Linked DNA regions of Homo sapiens: regions 1 and 2 are each linked to region 3. The links are contacts of gene promoters, found by promoter capture Hi-C in human tissues and cell types (Jung and others, 2019). All regions are on one chromosome and are shown on one strand. Each heading gives the region's core, a stretch centred on a gene start or on the middle of the fragment in contact. The rest is flanking DNA. Distances are from core to core; before and after follow the strand shown.

Region 1 (3,782 bases), core at 520-3,019, 630 kb after region 3:
GGGGTGTGATTACCCTATGGTAGCCACACCCACCCATCATGCTTTATTTCTTAACCAATAAATCACTACAAATGATGTGATCTGCACAGCCATATATCTCAGGCCCCTCCTTGCACACACAAGCAGCCCCTGCTGGTGAAACCAGTGGAGCAAAGTGATGCTCCCTGAATGGACATATCCCATCCTGCCCTTTGTGATAAAAATTTTAAAACAAGGGTGTGTCTTAGGTCTGCCTATTTTTTCCTTTCTTCTATTGAGACATTAAAAAGGGACCCTGAGTTCCTCTTGCCACTCATGTTCCCATCCCTTTGATTTCCCCCAGAAGAGTGCCCAGCTTGGCATTTGGTTGTATTTAGTTGGGCTCCTGCTAGATTGAAACATGAGTTTTTCCTGGGAATTCTGGTTATTTGTGATCCTTGGGTGAGCAAGGCGCAGGCTTTTGTATTGTAGCTCTTTATCAGGGCATTGCTGGGACTGGCGCACGTGCTCTTAAAGGTCTCTTCGGATAATCAGTGTCACTCCCATTGTAGTTGGATTCCTCCAGCCTCGTTTTCTTTCCCTCCCCATGTTCCATCTTCCTCAGTAAAGCATTCATTTGCTTTAACTTCACCTAGTCTAATTGACAGGATCCATTGTCATCTGCCTAAAACTTTTGTTCTTCTCGTCTTTATCCCTCTGAAGTGAGAATGCTATGCCCCCTCCAACCTTTTTTTTTTTTTTAAGATTTTTCTAGCTGATCGCATACAAGGCAGCACTCTGCATAAAAAGGCAATGGCTAACCCAAGACAGAGTAACTTACAGACCCCAGAAGCCGAGCAGGAGCTGCACTACAACCTGAAAAAGGGCCCACACATTTGAGGCCTGGCACAGGGCAAGGAAACATACCTATGAGGCGACAGAGTAGAGTTTTCTTGTTGGGTTTTGGGAAGAAATAAATATTTTTTGAACAGTGACATAACTTGGACTTCTCCCACTTGAGACAAAACTTGAGAACTTGCTGCCAGATCTGGGGGAGAAATTACATTAAGGAGGAGGATTCCACCTCCAATATCAGCCCTGAAAAGAAGTGAGAATCCTGCCAGCATTCGCAGCCTGGACATCTGGAAAACTTCACTGTTCTGACCAGAGCTTGCCACTCTAATCCTCTGATCTCTTGACAGTGGTTCTGATCCCACTGCCAGCAAGAAACAGTGCCTGCTGCATTTGGGGATGGGGGATAAGGAGAGGGCTTGGTAGACTGTCATTGGAAGATCATGAGAAGAGATCTCCATATTTTATGGTTATCTAGACAATGAATCTGATCTCAATTTATCAGGATTACTTGACCTCAGTGGCATGCATTTTCTCAAAGGTGAGTTTGGAGCTAAGAAGGATATCCATTAGCTTGACTAGTAAAAATATGTTGGTTAATGGATTCTACTAGACATTCACATTCAGATTGATTACTCTGTTATACTCTTATGAAGTACAAAAAATTTACCACCCCTTCTCCGCCTCAGAAGCACACATCTGTGTTCAATAGCAATCACTATCAAGGAAGTTTCATTTGAGAGTTGCCTGGAATGCCAATTGATTCTTTTTTTTTTTTCTTTTTTTGAGATGGAGTCTCACTCTTTCACCCAGGCTGGGATACAGTGGTGTGATCTTGGCTCACTGCAACCTCTGCCTCCAGGTTCAAGTACTCTCCTGCCTCAGTCTCCCGAGTAGCTGGGATTACAGGCACTCACCACCACACCCAGCTAATTTTTGTATTTTTAGTAGAGATGGGTTTCACCATGTTGGCCAAGCTGGTCTTGAACTCCTGGCCTCAGGTGATCTGCCTGCCTCGGCCTCCCAAAGTGTTGGGATTACAGGCGTGAGCCACTGAGCCTGGCCAATGCCGATTGATTCTGCCCTATTTCCACAAAGACACGATGCAGTCAACCAGTATACTAGTTCTTTTTTTTTTTGTATCCAGTTTAGGGGGATGATTCATGCTACATGCATCCCCCATGTCTGGAAAAGTGAGCCAATACCTGCATGTCTATTCATTCTCTTTAGATTGACCCCTCCTCAGGCACCTTGTCCCCTAAACCCCTTATATTTTCCTGGCAATCCATCTCTTTGACATCTTCCATTTTTTAAAGTCTTGTTTTTCTGTAATTGGTGGCTCCCTTCTTGGGGCTGACAGTGTTCACGTGTGGCAGCAGAAAGGGTGCTGTGTTTGGAGTTGGGGGAAATGACTTTGAGTTCCAGATTCAGGCATAGTAACTGTGGCTAGAGTGGACGAGGAAGAAATGTCCTACAGAACATTCCGATTTCATTAGACTGCTTTGGGGTCTGAGACTCAGTACTTTTAAAAACTCGCCAGAGCATTCTTATGTGCAATGAAGGTTAAGAGCCTCTGTTCTATACTGATGCATTGAAGGAGCTCTTGGGGTCAGGGACTCTACGAGGCCAGGACCAGAAGAGTGGGAAAGTCAATGGTGGGGCATCCACTTGGGCTTTCACTTCAAAGGGAAAAAACCCTCTTCCTTGTGATACTGCTCAAGCTCATTGTAAATAGTGTCCTGAATGTATGCTGGAAAAGGGAAAACATGCATGAGCTTCAGTCCAGGCTCTAATATTCCTGTTTTGTGACTTTAGACCAGTCACTTTATTTCTCTTGGGCTGCAGTTGTTTAAAATCTCGCAATGTGGAGATGACAATCTCTAGCACACGGGATTGGCATGAGGGTCAAACTAATACTACTACTATTAATAATAACTGCCATTCATTGCATTCTTATTCTGATTCTCAGGCACCCTCCAAGTGCTTTATGTGAATTATCTCATTTAACCCTTGCAAAATTCCATCTAAGGAAGATCTTATGAGGAAACACTGTGTTGAAAAGTCCTTTGTAATTAATAAAACCTTGTGAATGTATGATATCGTGCTCCACATAGTTTTGCAAAACTCCCTTACATATATATTGCCCAAGGGTATATAAATGAAAAGTAGAGACACTAAGATTTATGACTGGCTCTTTTAACACCAAGGTCATTGATCTTTCTACTATACTCCACTGGTTCCTGGATAATTGCAGATTATGTAATAGTATGTTTGAACTCAACTGTTCCTTAGTTCCTTGCTAGGAAAAATCTAATCCACCAAATCGGCTTCACCAAGATGCAAAGAAAGCTCAGAGTTTAAAATGTTTGATTTTATTCTATCATGAAGTATGGTTTCTGTATTCTGGCAGTGGGATGTATCTATTTTAAGGCTAAATGTCATTTCTTGGCATATGAAACAGTCATTTATTTATTCGGATGTGAAGTCCTTTAGATTTGCCAAGATAAGGACCAGTAGTCCTGAACTTGGGGATGCATTTCTTAACTGAGAAGCTCATAGTTCTGCTATTACAGCTACTGCTGCTTTCACCACATTTTAGAGGAGGCAGGCATTATAAAATGCCCTTTGATGAACATCTATGTAATTGAAGACTTAATACTCCCTCTGATTGTCACTAGTTCTCTTGCATTTAAATCCTGTTCTGTACAGTGAATTTGGCCTTGGTTCAGTTCACTTCATAGAGTGCCCCCAGGCCCCTCATTTATCTAGATGGCCCTGAGACTGGATTGTAGATTAGTACTACCTTTTGCTTTATTCTGTCTCTTGATTGTCTGTCTACCAGAAGGCAGGAACAAGGACTGGTTCTTCTATGTCATTGTATCTCTATAAAAGTTTTATTGAAACTGAAACTTATTTAAAATGCGTTTTATTTTTAAGTTACAGGTTTTATTTATTCTAGTTATTTCTGTCCT
Region 2 (4,309 bases), core at 1,193-3,692, 520 kb before region 3:
TTTATGATACGGGTTTTAAATAATTGAATTTTATAACTGTAGGAGATCGTTCAGACACAACTGAAATTTAAGAGAATACTTAAAAAAATTTGCTCCATAGGCAAAATAAAATTAAGCCATTACATTAAAAACCACAGCTATGAGGAAAGAAAGGTCTCTTATTGTCATCTGTCTTACTTTTTCTTTTCTGAGGGACAACCCTCCTGCATCCTTCCACTTTACAATAATGTCCTTCCCCAAGATGGCTGAGTACATACATCTCAAGTACGATGCGTGCCTCTGCATCAAGGAACTTTTGGGTATCTGAAGGTTAGGAATGGGAGACTTTTCACTGAATATCCTTTTGTATTAAAAAAAACTTAGGAGTATGTGAATATATTACTAATTCAAACACAAAACTAATTTTTTTTATTTTAAAATTTATTTATTTATTTATTTTGAGACAGAGTCTCACTCTGTCGCCCAAGCTGGAGAGCAGTGGCGCCACTGGGCTCACTGCAACCCTTGCCTCCCAGGTTCAAGTGATTCTTGTGCCTCAGCCTCCTAAGTAGCTAGGATTACAGGCGCCCTCCACCACATCCGGCTAATTTTTGTATTTTTAGTGGAGACGGGGGTTTCACTGTGTTGGTCAGGATGGTCTCGAACTCCTGACCTCAAGTGATCCACCCGCCTCAGCCTCCTAAAGTGCTGGGATTACAGGTGTGAGCCACCATGCCTGGTCAATTTTTATTTATTAATTTTTTCAGTCAGAGCAAGATAGCTTGATAATAAATTGACATTTTTAGGGTCAAATATAAAATATGCATGTGTCTGCCTTTTATTTTACTTTTTTAAAGAAGTAGACTCTATAACTAAGGTACTACCAGAACACAGTTATCTTCTGGTTTTTCATTTATCTGTTGTAATTGACCCAGATTGCTTAAACATGAGAATGTAGCAGCAAAAAAGAAATACACAGGCTAGGAAGCAGAGCTCAATTAAGAATAGAGAAAGCAGAAGAAAAAGAGAATAGACAAGGAGTCAGATGTAGGGTTCAATGGGAAAGGCAAGCAGTTCAAACTGGAGCAGTGTGAATAGAACCATATGAGTTGAGCAATCCTAAATAATCATGCTATCCAGATTTCAAGAAAACCTTTTTCTGAGTCACTTGGAAACATATAATTCTAAATTTAAAACCAGGTAGGAGCCAGGTTCTACGGCTCACGCCTGCAATCCCAGCACTTTGGGAGGCTGAAGTGGGCAGATCACTTGAGCTCAGGAGTTCAAGAACAACCTGGACAACATAGCGAAACCCCATCTCTACCAAAAAAATACAAAAATTAGCCAGGCATGGTGGCGTATGCCTGTAGTCCCAGTTACTTGGGAGGCTGAGTTGGAAGGATCACTTGAGCCTGGGAGGCAGAGGTTGCAGTGAGCTGAGATCATGCCACTGCACTCCAGCCTGGGTGACAGAACCGGACCCTGTCTCAAAAAAAATAAAAAATGAAACAGGGTAGCATTGGCATATGGAGTAAATACTGAACTGTATTGGCATGCTTATGCTAAAAAATTATTTGTTGTTTATCTAAAATTCAGATTTAACTGGGCATCCTATAAATTATCTGGCAACCCTAACTGTACATGCAATAAAAAAAAAATAAACAACTTACCAATTTGCCAGCAGATGGCTCCCCAAATCTAGTTTAGAATGAAACAGTGCATCCAAACATAGTGAGAAGTCATTATTGTTTCAGGGCTTTTGTTTTGAGTGTTTGTTTGATTGGCCTGGTCTGGTTGGATTCATTTTTTGCCAGGGGTGGGGGGAAGGGGCAGTGATAATTTTTATTTAGTTATATAAAAATATTAAATATCTTCTACCATCATTTCATACGATTCTTCATGATCCTTAACTTTAATGTTAAAATGAAAAAGAAATCACAATTTAATTTTCTATATTTTTTCTTTTATATTTGCTCAAGCATTTAAATACCAAGGCAACATGTATAATTTCAGTATAAGGTGACTCTGACATTTCGCGAAGGAATTCCATGCCCATTAGATTATGTATGCTGAGCATCAGGTTAGGGATCTTTATAAAAACTATACCTTTGCCTCTTTCATGCAGTCCGATTTGCTACAATATTTTAGCATTGAGGCATGAGCTTTGTTTTGACTCCAAAGCACACACCCAACACTCCCAATGAAATAATTGATTCAGTGGAATTTTTAGATCTGCCACAATTTTACCAACCCTTTGCTAATGCCAGAATACCTCCAAAAACAATCAAGCTTAGGCTCCGGTGAAAAACTCAGGAACCACCGTCAAGAAACATATAATAATTAAGTTGCATTTCCCACATTTCTATTAATACATAACGTACAACTCAATTTTGGATTTTTAAAAACTGTTGTCGTATACTATTCATTCTTAGTTCCACACTGGTTTAATAGAATCCTTCAAAGAATGTGCTGAGAAACCATGATTATTCTATAATAATGGCTTTCCTGCATTGCAAACGAATTAGGCTAGAATGTTCTCATACAATGTGAAGGGCACTATTTTAATGTGGCATTCACAAAAAGAGTGTATATGTCATATTAGAAGTGGTCTCCATCCTCCAATGCTCTGTGCCCCAGGAGGGTGCCCTGAATGGAATGCATCAAAGGGCTCCCTTGCTCTCAGACTGTGGGTTGGAATCAGCCAATCGTAGATATTGCAGCAGATGGGGAGAGCAGGAAAAGTGAGATCAGAAATATGTTTCTCCAGCTCACTCTCTACTGGTGAGTTGCCATGGGTTGGATGCAAACTTCTACTGAAGGCTATAGGTTCTATCAGGTGATCTTTTCTTTTCTTTTTCTTTTCTTTTTTTTTTTTTTTTTTGGAGACAAGAGTCTCGCTCTATCGCCCGGGCTGGAGTGGTGCAAGGGCACCATCTTGGCTCACTGCAACCTCTGCCTCCCAGGTTCAAGCGATTCCCCTGCCTCAGCCTCTTGAGTAGCTGGGATTACAGTCACGTGCCACCACGCCCAGCTAATTTCTGTATTTTTAGTAAAGATGGGGTTTTGTCTTGTTGGCCAGGCTGGTCTCAAACTCCTGGCCTCAGGTGATCCACCTGCCTCGACCTCCCAAAGGGATTACAGGCGTGAGCCACCACACCTGGCCTATCAGGTGACTTTTTCTAAATAGACCTTTCCTGCTCCCTTCTCCCAAATCTGGGGTAGAGGTTCTGTTTGCTCCATTGGGCCCTTTAGGCACCAGTATCACTATACTGCACTATAATTTTCTGCCCACCCCGTTGCATCTGTAAGTATCCACAAGACTAGGAACTGTGTCTTATTTTTGTCTTACTGATAGTAGATGTTCAGTAAATCTTCACTTAATCTGATAGAAGTTTTCATAATACAAATTTAAATAATCTTTTTAAATCTCTAAAAAAACTTTTAATAATAAAAAGAGTATTTCTCTAACTCTTTTTCACATAAACAAGGGCAAAATCCTGCTGGGTCTTAAAAAATTAAGAAATCTTAAATGAGTCACTGAAAAGCCTGGTTTAATATTCTTCTCTTAATAAATATTTATTGATTTATTTATATAGAGAGATGGGGTCTCACTTTATTGCCCAGGCTAGCCTTGAACTCCTCAGCTCAAGCAATCCTCCCAGCTCAGCCTCCCAAGTAGCTGGGACTATAGGTGTGCCACTGCACCCAGCATTATAATAATTTTTTAAAAGGATTCAAAATTTTAAAGTGATTTTAAAACATAGATGAAAAGGGCTTATATTTTATATTTAATATACACTTTATAATCTTTTAGAATATTATAATATCTTATGAACTTTTTTCTTGCATATGAGATCAATGTTATATTTTTAAAGAGCTAATCATGATATCATCTGAATTTATGGGAACGATACTTAATAGGCATTATGTTATATAGAGAAAAGTATGTTTACTTAAGAGAGATCTGATCCATTCTTACAAAGCTTTGGAACACTTACAATAAATAATTTGTAATAGAGTTCATAATAGTGGAGACATTATGAACAGGTGGTATCTATTAACAGAATGTGAATTACAGATTTGGCATTTATCTAGTTTATCTAGGTAATCTAGTTATCAGCAATGCAAAATGGTTGATCTAGATAATCCAATGACAATGAAAAAATTCATTTTAAGCCTTAGATTATTTGAACCAACAATAGATACTGATCAAATTAACTAGAAAAATGACCAAAGTTAATTTTATTATGAATATATAAATATAGCCCTAAGGTAAGAACAGAACCACTTAGCATTTTATAGTGTTTAACCCTTCAGTTTCCTTGAAACT
Region 3 (4,215 bases), core at 634-3,133:
CAAAAAAAATTAGCCGGGTGTGGTGGCGGGCGCCTGTAGTCCCAGCTACTCCGGAGGCTGAGGCAGGAGAATGGCGTGAACCGGGGAGGCGGAGCTTGCAGTGAGCCGAGATCGCGCCACTGCACTCCAGCTTGGGCGACAGAGCGAGACTCCGTCTCAAAACAAAACAAACAAAACAAACAAACAAAAAAACGGCATGAGGGAAATTTCCATGTTTATTGTGTTCATCTTTGTATGCCTAATTCCAAACTTTCCAAGCTCGGCACCCAGCACACAGTAGGTTCTTAATATTTGTTGAGTGAATGAATAAATGAAGTAAATTGGAAATGTAATTTGTCTTTGTCTAAAGGCAAGAACTCATTCAATATAACCTAGTCACTTGTCTTGACCTTCACCTCTTTTTTTCTTTAACAACCTTATTGAGGGAAAATTTACATACCATAAGATTCACCCATTAAGCTCCTCTTACTAATTTTTTTCTCTCTCATTTTTGTGTGTGAAGGTCATTTTCTAATGGCAAAAATGGAAAGAAAATAGAAGTAGAATGTTGTGGAATCTTAGATAAAGAATGGGCTCTTGGAGCCCAGTTTAGCAGGGTTTACTTCTCAGTTTTACTTTTCAATTGTGACCGTAAGCAAATTAACTTCTCTAGGCCTGGGATTCTGATCTGTAAAATTGCACTAATATGAGTCTCTTCACGGCTCCTCTAAGGATTAAATGAGAGACACATGCAAAGGATCCCCAAAAACAATAACTCAAAAAATGTTGATTCCCTCCCTTCCCTCTGTCATCTGTTAACCTCAACTTCCTAAATAGAAGGTCTATTCTTTTACCATCATCATTATTCTCTTCGGTGCCTATTTTTAAAAAATACTCAACCTTCTTGCTTCCTTCGCTACCTAAGTATTTCTGCAAGCCCACTTTGTTCTGCAGCTTAGCTTTCCTGGCACAATTCTTATAGATTTTGGTCCCTTTTAAAATTCATTCTTCAGCAAATGCTTTCTCTCTCCATCTTTTGACTAGAGATCATTAGAGATCACCTGAGATCATTAGAGAACAGTGGTTTCCTTGGTTGCCATTCCCTTTCTTCTTCATTGGGAGTATTCTGCGGTGAACTCAGACATTTTATTTTTCAAAGCTTCCCATTCTTTTAAAAATGCTTTTCCTTTTACAGCCTCTCGCTCAAAATCATACCCATCTTTTCCCTGGATCTGTTTTCTCAAGTCTCCAATCGCCTGCCTTCTTTGTGTCTTGTATTACCCTCACATCCCCCAGCTTTCTACTGCTCTCCCAGGACCAACCATTTCTTCCGCGGGAGTCACATTACATCAGCATTCCTAATGCAGTATCTGTTATCTACCAGATTCTGTTTTATTCTAGGTAGTCACTTAAAAACGAACCTCGGTACTGGTCTGACTTAACATGGAGGAGGAATTGTCTAAGGTTAAACGCAAACTGCTGAGAGATTTGGGGCGGGGGGCACACATTTACATTCATTCGTATTAAATATATACCTGTTGAATTTGTGCTTTTTCTCAAATGCTTCAGAGACTCGAGCTTTAGAGTAATTGGGATGGTGAAAGGATGGGTTTCCAGAAACTTCGCCCAAAATTAAAGACTCCATCAAAAGGACTGCTCCATACACTCAAGGAACACCCACCAACAAATCCCGTCTCCACAACCACCAGATTATCTCACCGGCGAGTGAGACTGCAAGGTTTGGGGGCCCGGCCGTACCACTCCGCGCTGCGCACGGGGGGTTCGTACCCATCTGGCCGCGACCGTCCGTTTCCCCCTCGCTTGGTTCTGCCCCTGCTCCCCCTGCACAGGCCTCACAGTGCGTCTGGCCGGCGCTTTATAGCTGCAGCCTGGGCGGCTCCGCTAGCTGTTTTTCGTCTTCCCTAGGCTATTTCTGCCGGGCGCTCCGCGAAGATGCAGCTCAAGCCGATGGAGATCAACCCCGAGGTGAGCGCCAGGTGCACCGCTACCCGGAGAGCGCGAGGCCGAGGGAGGGGGAGCCGAGTCGCTGATCGGTTCGGTTTTGCCTTTTTCTTTGCATTTGCCTTTCAGATGCTGAACAAAGTGAGTGGCGTCTCGCGCCGTCTCTGGCCCCCTCCCCCGCGAGCGCCGAGGCGGGGGCGCCCACCGGTTCCGGCTGCTGGCAGGGACCAAGCCGCCCGCTGCGAGCACCGGAGACGGCCGGGCTGGGGCGTGGGCTGGGCGCCTTTCCTGGGCCCCTGCATTTAGCGGGTGACTCTACGAAACCGGTCACGGGGAGACGGAGGGGGCTGCGCCCCGTGGCGAGCGAGCGCCAGGCGGAGCTCCCGAGGGCGTGGCGCGGGCAGCACAGACTCGGCTGCACGGGCTTCGCGGGCGCCACGTGTGGGCCGCGCTTTGTGCTGTGTCATTGCGCCGGCCCGGGTGGGGGTGGCAGGGCGGGACTGGGGCTCCTCCCAGGCTCGGGTGCGGGCGCGGAGGGCGCGCGCCTCCTGGCCCCGCCCCCTGGCAGGTGCCCGCGACCCGCGTGTCCCCGTGCGCCTGGCCGCCTTGTCTCCTCTCCGCAGGTGCTGTCCCGGCTGGGGGTCGCCGGCCAGTGGCGCTTCGTGGACGTGCTGGGGCTGGAAGAGGAGTCTCTGGGCTCGGTGCCAGCGCCTGCCTGCGCGCTGCTGCTGCTGTTTCCCCTCACGGCCCAGGTAGGGCGTGGGGCCCAGGATGCGCCGGCCGCCGGCAGTGCACGCCGCTCCCCAGCTTGAGTCCTCGGGGGCTCCCCGCCCCGCCCCCTCCCCTGTAGGTGATGCGGGGCGCGCCTACAAGGAAGGGAGGAGCCTGCATTTTCGTGGTACCTACTCCCTGGGCTCCTGTTCCAGCGGTGCCTGTCGCCTTCTTGCCCATCCGTCCACAATTGCCTTAAATTTGGAAGAGAGGCAGTATCTCAGTTCCATCTATCCCGTTATCCAGGGAAATCATTCATCCTACTCATGAGTTCCCTCGAACTTGGGCTTTTTCGAGCCTCCGGTTCCGGGGAATGGCTGCTGGTTTCCCTTTAAGGGCTATAACCTGTCAACTCATTGTTTGCTTCTCAGACTCCCACCTAGCTGTAGAATGGAGGGGGAAGGGCTGACCTAAATCGCAGGGAAACAATTAGGTTCGCTAATTCTCCGCCTCCATTACTTGGGTTTCTGATGGTCTTAAGGGGTTCTTCTCTCTTCTCCACTCCCACCACTTGCACACTTGGTTTTTAGCCTCTTGAATGTATTTCTTAAAGCTTAATCATTTTGTGTATGGTTTCTGTGTGGGAACCTCCTTCCTCTTCACTTATCCTTGTTCATCTCTGACCTTGTAGCTAACTGAAATAGGGGGTTATTAGCTCAGTTTTGAAAGCACCTTTGCATTTCCCTTGAAATGATTTTCCTCCTACAAGTGTGCATGGATAGATGTATCTGAAAGACAGCGTCAGATTTTTTTTTTTAAAGGATAGCTAGGATATTTGCAGTCTTGTGATGTATGGAATCCCAGTCATTAGCGCATGGCATTGTCTTATCTCCTATTGCTGTCACTTGACCGCTGATGTGGGAGTGACTGAAATTAGCTTTAGCAAAACTTGGGGCATCACTCTAAAGAGTGAGGTTAACTGAAGCACCGTCCTAAGGCTAGGTGTTCTGGAAGCATCTGTAGCCAAAATCAAGAGTATGGGAAGTTCCAAGCCTTCCTCCTAGTAAGTAAGCTAAGTATTGTGGGTAAAAACACTTATTTACAGCTAATAAGATGATCTCACTGACATGTTTTTATTGCTAAAGTCTTTTACTTGGGCTAAAAGGAAGATGCCAAATTGTTGGAAGTCGAATTAGCTTCCTGGTTGACCAAATCAGTCTCCTGTCTCCAGTTGAGCATCACACAGAGGTTTTTTATTAGAGCAACCATGATGACTCGGAGGTTTTGAGCAGCATTCAGAGGCAAGGCCTCTGGGAGGCAGTGGTGCAGCATGTTTGCCTTTAAAAGCTGACTGTTCTCCTTTTGCTGAATCTTGTTTAGAGAACATTCTAGTTTGTGTTATGTTTGAAAGAGCTCGATACTTTGTCCTTTAGTTTCAATTCAACCTATCAGATTTATCGAGCGCCTATTCTGCTACACAGAATGCCTACTGGACAAAACACTGAAGCCGATTGAAAGAAAAGTTGAGGTTTTATAGGTTGACTCCAAAGATGCTAATGTTAA

What was found. The method cuts DNA at HindIII sites, captures the fragments that hold promoters and counts their contacts. A contact is called where the count stands out against the background at its distance.
Region 1: a contact is called between a fragment that was not itself captured here and the fragment with the promoter of UCHL1 in region 3, in 2 of the 25 tissues and cell types used here (dorsolateral prefrontal cortex and mesenchymal stem cells).
Region 2: a fragment that was not itself captured here is called in contact with the fragment with the promoter of UCHL1 in region 3 in 2 of the 25 tissues and cell types used here (hippocampus and lymphoblastoid cells).

The regions. Positions count from the first base shown.
Region 1 is chr4:41,884,493-41,888,274 of GRCh38, forward strand. The region is part of intron 1 of LOC124900696 (a long non-coding RNA gene); the gene reads right to left. Among named protein-coding and RNA genes, the nearest start is that of LINC00682, 3.8 kb to the left of the region's middle. The HindIII fragment of the contact is 7,578 bases long and covers 1-3,782 here.
Region 2 is chr4:40,735,430-40,739,738 of GRCh38, forward strand. No RefSeq gene overlaps it. Among named protein-coding and RNA genes, the nearest start is that of NSUN7, 12 kb to the right of the region's middle. The HindIII fragment of the contact is 5,767 bases long and covers 1-4,309 here.
Region 3 is chr4:41,255,045-41,259,259 of GRCh38, forward strand. UCHL1 (ubiquitin C-terminal hydrolase L1) reads left to right here and starts at 1,884. Exons shown (of 9, transcript NM_004181.5): 1 at 1,884-1,965; 2 at 2,071-2,082; 3 at 2,565-2,693. The coding sequence starts at 1,933. UCHL1-DT (UCHL1 divergent transcript) reads right to left here and starts at 1,683. Exons shown (of 3, transcript NR_102709.1): 1 at 1,515-1,683. RefSeq lists a silencer at 2,000-2,759 and an enhancer at 2,594-3,094. The HindIII fragment of the contact is 4,741 bases long and covers 1-3,895 here.